3 separate regions of the Homo sapiens genome follow, and all the other regions are linked to region 1. The links are contacts of gene promoters, found by promoter capture Hi-C in blood cells and fetal thymus (Javierre and others, 2016). All regions are on one chromosome and are shown on one strand. The core of a region is centred on a gene start or on the middle of the fragment in contact, and the rest is flanking DNA. Distances in the headings are between cores, read along the strand shown.

The links. Contacts are between HindIII fragments. The CHiCAGO score rates a contact against its expected background, and 5 or more counts as called.
Region 2: the fragment with the promoter of RFXAP here is called in contact with the fragment with the promoter of ZAR1L in region 1 in 1 of 17 cell types (total CD8 T cells); the score reaches 6.3 in total CD8 T cells.
Region 3: the fragment with the promoter of SPART here is called in contact with the fragment with the promoter of ZAR1L in region 1 in 1 of 17 cell types (naive CD4 T cells); the score reaches 6.3 in naive CD4 T cells.

Annotation. Positions count from the first base shown.
Region 1 is chr13:32,313,216-32,316,612 of GRCh38, forward strand. It overlaps ZAR1L (zygote arrest 1 like), which reads right to left and starts at 2,148. Exons shown (of 6, transcript NM_001136571.2): 1 at 2,100-2,148; 2 at 1,115-1,335. BRCA2 (BRCA2 DNA repair associated) reads left to right here and starts at 2,293. Exons shown (of 27, transcript NM_000059.4): 1 at 2,293-2,452; 2 at 3,207-3,312. The coding sequence starts at 3,246. RefSeq lists a silencer at 1,344-1,564, a cis regulatory region at 1,683-1,749, a promoter at 2,078-2,574 and an enhancer at 2,683-2,952. The HindIII fragment of the contact is 7,545 bases long and covers 1,872-3,397 here.
Region 2 is chr13:36,817,344-36,820,740 of GRCh38, forward strand. RFXAP (regulatory factor X associated protein) reads left to right here and starts at 1,879. Exons shown (of 3, transcript NM_000538.4): 1 at 1,879-2,614. The coding sequence starts at 2,015. It overlaps LOC124903158 (a long non-coding RNA gene), which reads right to left and starts at 1,728. Exons shown (of 2, transcript XR_007063760.1): 1 at 824-1,728. RefSeq lists a silencer at 1,797-2,166 and enhancers at 2,397-2,446, 2,457-2,686. The HindIII fragment of the contact is 8,641 bases long and covers 1-3,397 here.
Region 3 is chr13:36,344,799-36,348,195 of GRCh38, forward strand. It overlaps SPART (spartin), which reads right to left and starts at 1,596. Exons shown (of 9, transcript NM_015087.5): 1 at 1,427-1,596. It overlaps SPART-AS1 (SPART antisense RNA 1), which reads left to right and starts at 1,633. Exons shown (of 5, transcript NR_045181.1): 1 at 1,633-1,709. RefSeq lists a silencer at 1,445-1,494. The HindIII fragment of the contact is 1,461 bases long and covers 1,183-2,643 here.

The DNA.
Region 1 (3,397 bases), core at 898-3,397:
TGCTCTCACCGCACACAAAAGAAAGGTAATTATGTGAACAGATGGATATGTTAATTGCTTGACTATAGTAATCATCTCACTGTGTACATATACATGTTGTGCACATTAAATATATACAACTTTTAGGAAATAATGGTTTTTTGGGTTTTTGTTTGTTTGCTTGTTTGAAATGGAGTTTCCTTGCTCTGTCTCCCAGGCAGGAGTGCAGTGGCATGATTTCGGCTCACTGCAACTTCCGCCTCTGGGGTTCAAGTGATTCTCCCACCTCAGCCTCCCAAGTAGCTGGGATTACAGGCACATGCCACCACACCCAGTTAATTTTTGTATTTTTAGTAGAGACAGGGTTTTGCCATGTTGGCCAGGCTGGTCTCGAACTCCTGACCTCAGGTGATCTGCCCACCTTGGCCTCCCAAAGTGCTGTGATTACAGGCGTGAGCCACCATGCCCAGCTGGAAATAATGTTTTTAAGAAAAATTAAAGCATATTGTAAATTGAATACAAATAGTAAATTGAGCAGCTGCACTAGAAGAGAATAGGTGAGAAAGTCTATTATGGTGGAGCTAATAAGTTGCAAGTCCCTGGTACAAAGAGAACAAGAAACATAAAGGTATGGGGGGCTGTATAAAATGACAGAAAATGTTATTTCTGAGACTTGTGTGACATGCCACGGGTTCTCATTAGTCCACTCCTAGTGAGACACCCCTCCCCCACAAAAAGGGGACAAAGCATATTGTTCTGATTTATAGGGTAAATAAATCACAGGTTAGTTAAGTGTATGAAGTCAAATGGACTAGAATTCAAACCTGGGCCTTACTACCAGGCACATTACTTAACTACTTGATTCAGTATCCTCATCTGACAATACTGACCAATTTACAGGATTACTGTAAGATTAAACATGGTATTGCTTGAAAACCCAAAGCAGAATGCCTAACTCATAAAATGTTTGGTAAGTGGCAGCTGTTATTAGTAAGGATCACAGACGTATTTCTTTGCGAATTAGACTTAGAGCAAAAGCTTTAGAATCTATCTGCATTAGTAAGGCCTCCTTCTACAACTAAGGATTACTGATTATCAAACTAAAATGGTCCCTAAGGAACCAAGCGGAGCCCACCCTTTTCCTAATCCAAGGTTGCTTCTGTTTACTGCTCAAGCACCTTCTGGAAGCAGCAAGGCCCCCATGGGAGCAACTCTCACTGAATCCATTTGAAGGTTTTGTAGGTCTTACAACAAACCCTATTCAGCCTTGTATTAGGCATGTTACAGAACCAACGAATTCGGAGATGAAGTCAGGTCTTCCAGTTCAGCCTGCGAGGAAGACAGGTGATCCGAATCCTAAGAATGCAAAAGATGGGCCGGGTGTGGTGGCTCATGCCTGTAATCCCAGCGCTTTGGGAGGCCGAGGCAGGCAGATCACCTGAGGTCGGGAGGTTGAGACCAGACTGACCAACAACGGAGAAACCCCGTCTCTACTTAAAAATGCAAAGTTAGCCGTGCGTGGTGGCCCATGCCTGTATTCCCAGCTACTCGGGAGGCTGAGGCAGGAGAACCACTTGATCCCTGGAGGCGGAAGTTGCGGTGAGCGGAGATTGCGCCATTGCACACCAGCCCGGGCCACAAGAGCGAAACTCCGTCTCAAAAAAAAAAGCAAAAGATACTACCAAGCCCTGCGGAGCAAGGTACCTCACACTTCATGAGCGAGTTAAGATGGGTTTCACAATTTTTCAAGCAAGGAAACGGGCTCGGAGGTCTTGAACACCTGCTACCCAATAGCAGAACAGCTACTGGAACTAAAATCCTCTGATTTCAAATAACAGCCCCGCCCACTACCACTAAGTGAAGTCATCCACAACCACACACCGACCACTCTAAGCTTTTGTAAGATCGGCTCGCTTTGGGGAACAGGTCTTGAGAGAACATCCCTTTTAAGGTCAGAACAAAGGTATTTCATAGGTCCCAGGTCGTGTCCCGAGGGCGCCCACCCAAACATGAGCTGGAGCAAAAAGAAAGGGATGGGGGACTTGGAGTAGGCATAGGGGCGGCCCCTCCAAGCAGGGTGGCCTGGGACTCTTAAGGGTCAGCGAGAAGAGAACACACACTCCAGCTCCCGCTTTATTCGGTCAGATACTGACGGTTGGGATGCCTGACAAGGAATTTCCTTTCGCCACACTGAGAAATACCCGCAGCGGCCCACCCAGGCCTGACTTCCGGGTGGTGCGTGTGCTGCGTGTCGCGTCACGGCGTCACGTGGCCAGCGCGGGCTTGTGGCGCGAGCTTCTGAAACTAGGCGGCAGAGGCGGAGCCGCTGTGGCACTGCTGCGCCTCTGCTGCGCCTCGGGTGTCTTTTGCGGCGGTGGGTCGCCGCCGGGAGAAGCGTGAGGGGACAGATTTGTGACCGGCGCGGTTTTTGTCAGCTTACTCCGGCCAAAAAAGAACTGCACCTCTGGAGCGGGTTAGTGGTGGTGGTAGTGGGTTGGGACGAGCGCGTCTTCCGCAGTCCCAGTCCAGCGTGGCGGGGGAGCGCCTCACGCCCCGGGTCGCTGCCGCGGCTTCTTGCCCTTTTGTCTCTGCCAACCCCCACCCATGCCTGAGAGAAAGGTCCTTGCCCGAAGGCAGATTTTCGCCAAGCAAATTCGAGCCCCGCCCCTTCCCTGGGTCTCCATTTCCCGCCTCCGGCCCGGCCTTTGGGCTCCGCCTTCAGCTCAAGACTTAACTTCCCTCCCAGCTGTCCCAGATGACGCCATCTGAAATTTCTTGGAAACACGATCACTTTAACGGAATATTGCTGTTTTGGGGAAGTGTTTTACAGCTGCTGGGCACGCTGTATTTGCCTTACTTAAGCCCCTGGTAATTGCTGTATTCCGAAGACATGCTGATGGGAATTACCAGGCGGCGTTGGTCTCTAACTGGAGCCCTCTGTCCCCACTAGCCACGCGTCACTGGTTAGCGTGATTGAAACTAAATCGTATGAAAATCCTCTTCTCTAGTCGCACTAGCCACGTTTCGAGTGCTTAATGTGGCTAGTGGCACCGGTTTGGACAGCACAGCTGTAAAATGTTCCCATCCTCACAGTAAGCTGTTACCGTTCCAGGAGATGGGACTGAATTAGAATTCAAACAAATTTTCCAGCGCTTCTGAGTTTTACCTCAGTCACATAATAAGGAATGCATCCCTGTGTAAGTGCATTTTGGTCTTCTGTTTTGCAGACTTATTTACCAAGCATTGGAGGAATATCGTAGGTAAAAATGCCTATTGGATCCAAAGAGAGGCCAACATTTTTTGAAATTTTTAAGACACGCTGCAACAAAGCAGGTATTGACAAATTTTATATAACTTTATAAATTACACCGAGAAAGTGTTTTCTAAAAAATGCTTGCTAAAAACCCAGTACGTCACA
Region 2 (3,397 bases), core at 629-3,128, 4.5 Mb after region 1:
TTGCTGAATTGCATGATAGTTTTCAAATACTGAAAGAATATTTTCTCAGTTGGGGGGGTTGGATATTCACAATGTGAGAGCTGCAGATAGAATACATTTTCAGTTTAATCTTTTTCTTTTTCTTTTTTTCTTTTTTGATGGAGTCTCACTCTGTTGCCCAGGCTGGAGTGCAGTGGCACAGTCTTGGCTTACTGCAATCTCTTCCTCCTGGGTTCGAGCGATTCTCATGCCTCAGCCTCCTGAGTAGCTGGGATTATAGGTGTGGACCACCACACCTGGCTGATTTTTGTATTTTTAGTAGAGACGGGGTTTCATCATGTTGGTCAGGCTGGTCTCGAACTCGTGACCTCGTGATCCACCTGCCTGAGCCTCCCAAAGCGCTGGGATTACAGGTGGGAGCCACTGAGCCTGGCCTTAAATTTAATCTTCATTAACATTTTCACTGTCACTTTCTTAAGTGCAGAGACAATCAGCAATAAGTGTAAACCTGCTTCGTAGCATTTGATCATTTCCCTGGTGTAAATACTCCAAAAGTGGCTGATTTCAAGCAATCAACATGACATACTGAAGGCAGAGTTGGGAAAATGTGCAGTAACACACCACTAAATAATATTTCCGCATACAGATACAATAGACATAAATAACCTTAAAAGCACAGATAATGATAAAACATAATAAAATAATTAGAAAATGAAGAGTTTTGAGATTTGTACCCTTTGTTTTTAATATAATCTTATTGTAAGTTTATGTAGTAAGACTTTTAATAATAGCAGTGTTTAATTTTTCTGCTAATTATATTCCTGAAATTTTAGCAACCAGTTACCATCAGTTGGCGCTAGCACACCACCGACTGCAGGCTTTACTGATGAGGAAACTGAGGCTCGGAGAGGCTGTCACGAACTTGCTGTAGTCACACAGGAAGTACTACCTAGGTTGCTCTAATTCCAAACCTTCTCCCTTCCATATGCCTCTCTTTAAAACATAACTGATCTACCTATATGTCAGCACCCAAACATCTTAGTGTGAATGGATTTATAGTTTGTTGAATAAAGTCATTGCTTTCCGGTAGGTGGGATGGGAAATCTGACTAGGCGAAAGAATAGGATGAAGGGAAAAAGAACATCTACTTAACAGTTCAGGATACGGCAGGATATTTTCTCTCCTGGGATTTGGGCAAGCCAAGATTTAACAACCAGCAATTGCCCAGCAACTGATAGAACTGGTAGAACATTCATTGTTTTTTTAAACGTTTGCCATTCAGTATTCCTTTTCACACATTTTCACTGTGTTAAACGAAAACGTTAAGACTTATCTCAGCAGCCACAGCAAAGAGCAAGTACTAACAATCAAGTGAGTTTCCAGGAGAAAAAAAACAAAGTTATCCCTCAATGCAAATACAACTCGGCCAAAGGTGTGGCCCATCCCTCTCCGCTCCACTATTTTCAAATAAGCCACCTCTGCCTTCATGGACTGCGAGCTAGTGACTCTAGGCTGTGACACCACTGCATCCCAGCTTCAAATCTCCCCTTGCAGGCAGTTTGTGGGGGAAATAATAAAATTAGCATCCTAACACTACAAGTCGTGAGACCGCTCAGGAACAATCCTAATTTGCATACTGGAACTCCTGTAGAAGATACTTTGAACCGCTTTAGATACAATAGGATCAGGTAAAACGGCGCTGCCTTGCCAGCCACTGCAGGTTTTCACCTGACACAGCCCCCAGACCCTGTCTACGAATCCCCCAGCTGGCCGAAGGGGCCGCGGCCGCACATGCGCAGTCAGTCCCGTTGGTTGTGCGCTCAGCCCCGCCCCCAGAGGCGCCGCGCTCCCTGACAGCCCGCGGGCGTACACACGCTGACGCGCAGGCTGCGGTCGCGCAGGCGCAGTCGGGGCGCCTTCCCGGTATAGGCGCCTTTTACCCCAGCGTGTCCTGAGTCTTTGGTTCGCGAAGTGCCGTTAGGCCAAGCAGGTGCTAAAAGCCCGGGGTCGTGGACCCCGGCCAGGTCTTAGCAGCATGGAGGCGCAGGGTGTAGCGGAGGGCGCGGGGCCGGGCGCCGCCAGCGGCGTGCCCCACCCCGCGGCCCTAGCCCCGGCTGCGGCTCCCACCTTGGCGCCAGCCTCGGTGGCGGCCGCGGCCTCTCAATTCACCCTGCTAGTGATGCAACCCTGTGCTGGGCAGGACGAGGCTGCGGCCCCCGGGGGCAGCGTTGGGGCGGGCAAGCCCGTTAGGTACCTGTGCGAAGGGGCCGGGGATGGCGAAGAGGAGGCTGGGGAGGACGAGGCGGACCTGTTAGACACTTCGGACCCTCCGGGGGGAGGCGAGAGCGCGGCTAGTTTGGAGGATCTAGAGGACGAGGAGACTCACTCGGGGGGCGAGGGCAGCAGCGGGGGCGCCCGGAGGCGGGGCAGCGGTGGGGGCAGCATGAGCAAGACCTGCACCTACGAAGGCTGCAGCGAGACCACGAGCCAGGTGGCCAAGCAGCGCAAACCGTGGATGTGCAAGAAACACCGCAACAAGATGTACAAGGACAAGTATAAAAAGAAGAAGAGCGACCAGGCCCTGAACTGCGGTGGGACTGCCTCGACTGGCAGCGCGGGAAACGTCAAACTCGAGGTATCAGACTTAGCTGAGGCCTGGGGATGGGAGGTGGAAGAAGAAACCCGATCTTAACGCAAACCGCATCTGCAGGGCCTGCCTCCCCACTTCCAAATGGGCCGGTTTGCAGTGACTGGGTTAGTGGTTGAGAATTAGAGTGTTTGCCCTAAATTAAAGTTTATACCAACATGTGCAAAGCAATAACAGTTCTGTTGAACTCATGATAGGTGCAGAAATTTCAGTAAAAATAATGTGACATCGGCAGAGCTGTCATAGATCTGGGATATGGCTGGAAGGACATAGAGTAAATGATCGGTCTGGTTCATCGCTAAAGGAGACTTAGGAACCTAGATGAAGTTGGTACTTCTGAGAAAGTCATCTCTTTCTGTTTTCACTACTCTATTCTCAGTATCCAGTTCTCAGTACCCAGTTCTCAGTACCTCTATTTGTAATACTCCTGTATTTAGTACTTTGTTTTTAGTGTCCTGTTCTGTTAACCCTCTTCCTAGTACCGTATTTTTAGTACTGCTATACTCAGTTGCCTGTCTGTAGTACCCCTGTACGTAGTACTCTTTTCTTACAACTCTGTTCCCAGTACCCCTATGTTTAGTCCCTTGTTCTCATGTTCTCACTACCCCAATACTTAATATACTTTGTTCTCAGTATCCTTGTTGTTAGTACCCTGTTCTCACTACCCCTTTTCTTAGTACCCCTGAGGGGGGAAAAAAAGGATGATAATGGGGTATAAGTCTCAAAAAACTTTTGGATTGTTTGATTTGAACTGAGTCAAAGGTAAAACCA
Region 3 (3,397 bases), core at 346-2,845, 4.0 Mb after region 1:
TGAAATGACAATCTGATGTATTAAACAGTACCTACACCAGTGTACAGTCTTCAACAACAAACCAAAATCTGTTCCGATACCAGTAGTTCACCTAAATTCTAATTTTTTAACGTTCTAATAAAACACATTTATTTCAACATAACTACATGTATGTCTGTGTATGTCTTAAAAAATACCCGAGAAAAGGTAAAATTCTGCATTAAAATACCTAGCAATTTAGTTCGATTCCATAAACACTGAAAGAAGTAACACTCTCACTTAACAGTCAACATTACAAGCAGTCTTTAATAATACCGCATTTAACTCCTTAGAGCTAGCACAAGTTGATCTAATGCCTATTTGGCCCTTTACCAAAAAAGCGGAGGGGGCTTTGTCTAACACCTGTATACACCTCCCTCCGTAGCATCCCGCTCATTCTAGCTTCTTAGGGAAACCATAGACAACGACGTTTCAGAGAGTGCCAGAGGTGAAGCCGACCCGAAACCACATTACAGAAAGGCTTCCTGTTTCAAACAGGTCCAATAAAGCCACCAAATTAAGTCTACGATTATAAAGAACTGCGAATCAGAAAATAATTCCATATAGGTGCAGTCTTCTATTACTTTTTTCCCCACTTTCGGAAATTTCAAAGAAAAATTGCTACATTCTTAAATATGAGGCCATTATTTCAAAGGCTGTAACAACCTGGAACGCAAATTCGTTAAATTATGATACAATAAGGCCAACCTCGAGGATCCTCGGTGGACTACTAGCGCACTTCCTTACAATTAGAAAGTGAAAAACTGGGTCAGCCCTAGAGTCACGCAATAATGCTGCGTCACGAAACTGCGCATTCCAAGAGAAACTTTTCTCAGGCCCAGAATTAAGTCGGAGGGATCCGCCGCGCAGCTCAATCCCTAGGAAGCATGAAAGAATGTATTGTAAAGAGTAAAATCACGCGCAATCCATCCCAATATAACCGCAGTTGTTCGTGGGCCTTCTTGCAGAGAAAGGCTGCCCAACCTTGACGGGGCCATGGGCGCTGCGGGAGGGCAAAAGACCACAGAGATCTGCGAAGCCAAAGTAAACAACGGGGTTGGGGCGGCGAGAATGATCAATAGCGATGCTCCGAAAGGACTCCGCGATAGGAATCGAGCGGGAAGGATTCCCTCCATCCTAACAGTCCATGGGTTAAGAGGCCGAAGCTTCCCTAAATACCACACTCCCGCGAGAGAAGGGACTGAGAACAACTTCTCAAACTATTCTCTCTCGAAATCGCTCCCTTCCTCGAAAATTCCATCTCTGAGACTCGGATGAGGTCCCCACCCCCTCCACCCTTGTCCCGTGACCGTCGCCCGCTCAGCCTCCCAGCCGAGTCCGCGGGGCCTGGGGCGCCCACCCCGCCCACCCAAGGGACCGCGCAGGGGTGAACTCCCCCGCGCCCCACCTGCGCCTTCCAGACCTCGGGCGCCCCGGCGTTGCCTCGAGAGCTCCCTGCGCGGCCGCCGCGGCACGGACCAGCTCCCACTCCCTTACACTGGGCGCCGCTGCGCTCGCCGGGGGCCGGTCCCGAGGTTCCCAAGGCCTCGCGCGCGCGCTTGCCGTGGCAACCAAGACGTTCCACGACGCGCGCTCTCGAACGCTTCGCGTCACGCGGCCGCGCGGCCCCGCCCGTCGGCCTCGCTCCCGCCACAGAGCCCGCAGCACGCCGCCGCCGCAGCCTAGGTCACGTGAGTACCCACGCGCGCGTCTTGCCAGCGGATTCATCACCGGCCTGCTCAGACTAGGTTCTGCCCACTCTGACCTTCTAAATGGTACGTGGGAGGACGTCCGTCCCCTTCGGACCCAAGAGTCACCGTAACACTCTAGAAGGGGAGAAAAGGAGCGAGGGCGGCAGGCGACAGAGAACCTCGCGAGTCAGCGGCCCCGCGCAGACCCCCCCAGGCACGGTCCCCTGCGGCCACGTCGGCTGCTCGGCGCCTGCGCAATCTCTTTCTCTCCAGCGAAACCGAGGCCTCCGGAGAGCCTAGTAGAGAGTGTGGGCAGTGAGCGCTTGTAGCCGCTAGAGGGAGCGCTGGGCACAGTGCACGAGAGACAATAAAGGCTGATTATCCCCTCAATGTCTCTGCAGCCTGAGCTTTGTGACTTCTGTATCCAGAGCACAGTTAATTTCCAAAAGCCCGCCTGCACCACGTGTTTTAAGTCTTGGTGTGTGTGTAAAGTCTATATCACTATCATAAAACTGTTAGTTCCTGATTCCGGGATACAAAGAGTAAAATCAAGATGAACATACTTTACCCTTCTTGACAAGTGTTTTTAAATTAGTAAAATATTGTAGATGACAGACTCTTCAATAGGGCTGCCTTAGGGAAAAAAAAACAGAAAAAAGAAAAAGCAGTATGTACTTGCCCGGAGCATTTAGAACCAGTTTTGTTGTTGTTGTGTTTTTGTTTTGTTTTGAGACAGAGTCTTACTATGTTGCCCAGGCTGGAGTGCAGTGGCATGATCTCGGCTCACTGCAACCTCTGCTTCCCAGGTTCAAGCGACTCTCATGCCTCAGCCTCCAGAGAAGCTGGAATTACAGCTGTGCACCACCACTCCCGTCTAATTTTTGTATTTTTAGTAGAGACGGGGTTTCACCATATTGGCCAAGCTGGTCTTGAAAGCTTGACCTCAAGTTAGCCAGGCTGGTCTCGAATTCCTGACCTCAAGCGATCCACCTGCCTCAGTTTCCCAAAGTGCTGGGATTACAGGCGTGAGTCACCGCGCCTGGCCTTAGGACCAGTTAAGTGACTCCCTCAAATCTCAGAAAGGTAGCAGTCAGTCATCCCAAAAAGCAAAACCTATTAGGAATATATTAATACAGTGGTTTCAAAATGATTTTGCTCTTATACCCCCAAAGGAGTCCCCAAAGACTATGACTGTATTCTCACTTCCACGTTTTTGGATTGACCATCACAATTTCTCATCTGACTTAAATAGTTACAAAAGAAGCAACTTCTGTTTTATTATAAATTAACATTTTAAAATAAAAGTTATATAACTTTTAAATGTAGCCAGTGGAATCTAAATACCAATTTAATATCTAAAATCATCAATTTTTAAAACTACATGAACAAGCTTTTAACAGAAGGAAATTTTACATCATTTCTTTTCTTCTTGAACTCATATTTCCGTTCCATATTGTGAAATTGTATGTCAATATTTCTTTAGTCTTGCAAATATTGGCCAGGCTTGGTGGCTTATGCCTGTAGTCCCAGCTACTCCAGAGGCCGAGGCAAGAGAATCGCTTGAGCCCAGGAGTTCGAGACCAGCCTGGGCAACATGACGAAACCCGTCCCTACAAAAAAACACAAAAATTAGCTGGGCATGGTGGTACACATCTGTAGTCCCAGTTACTCCAGAGGCTGAGGCAGGA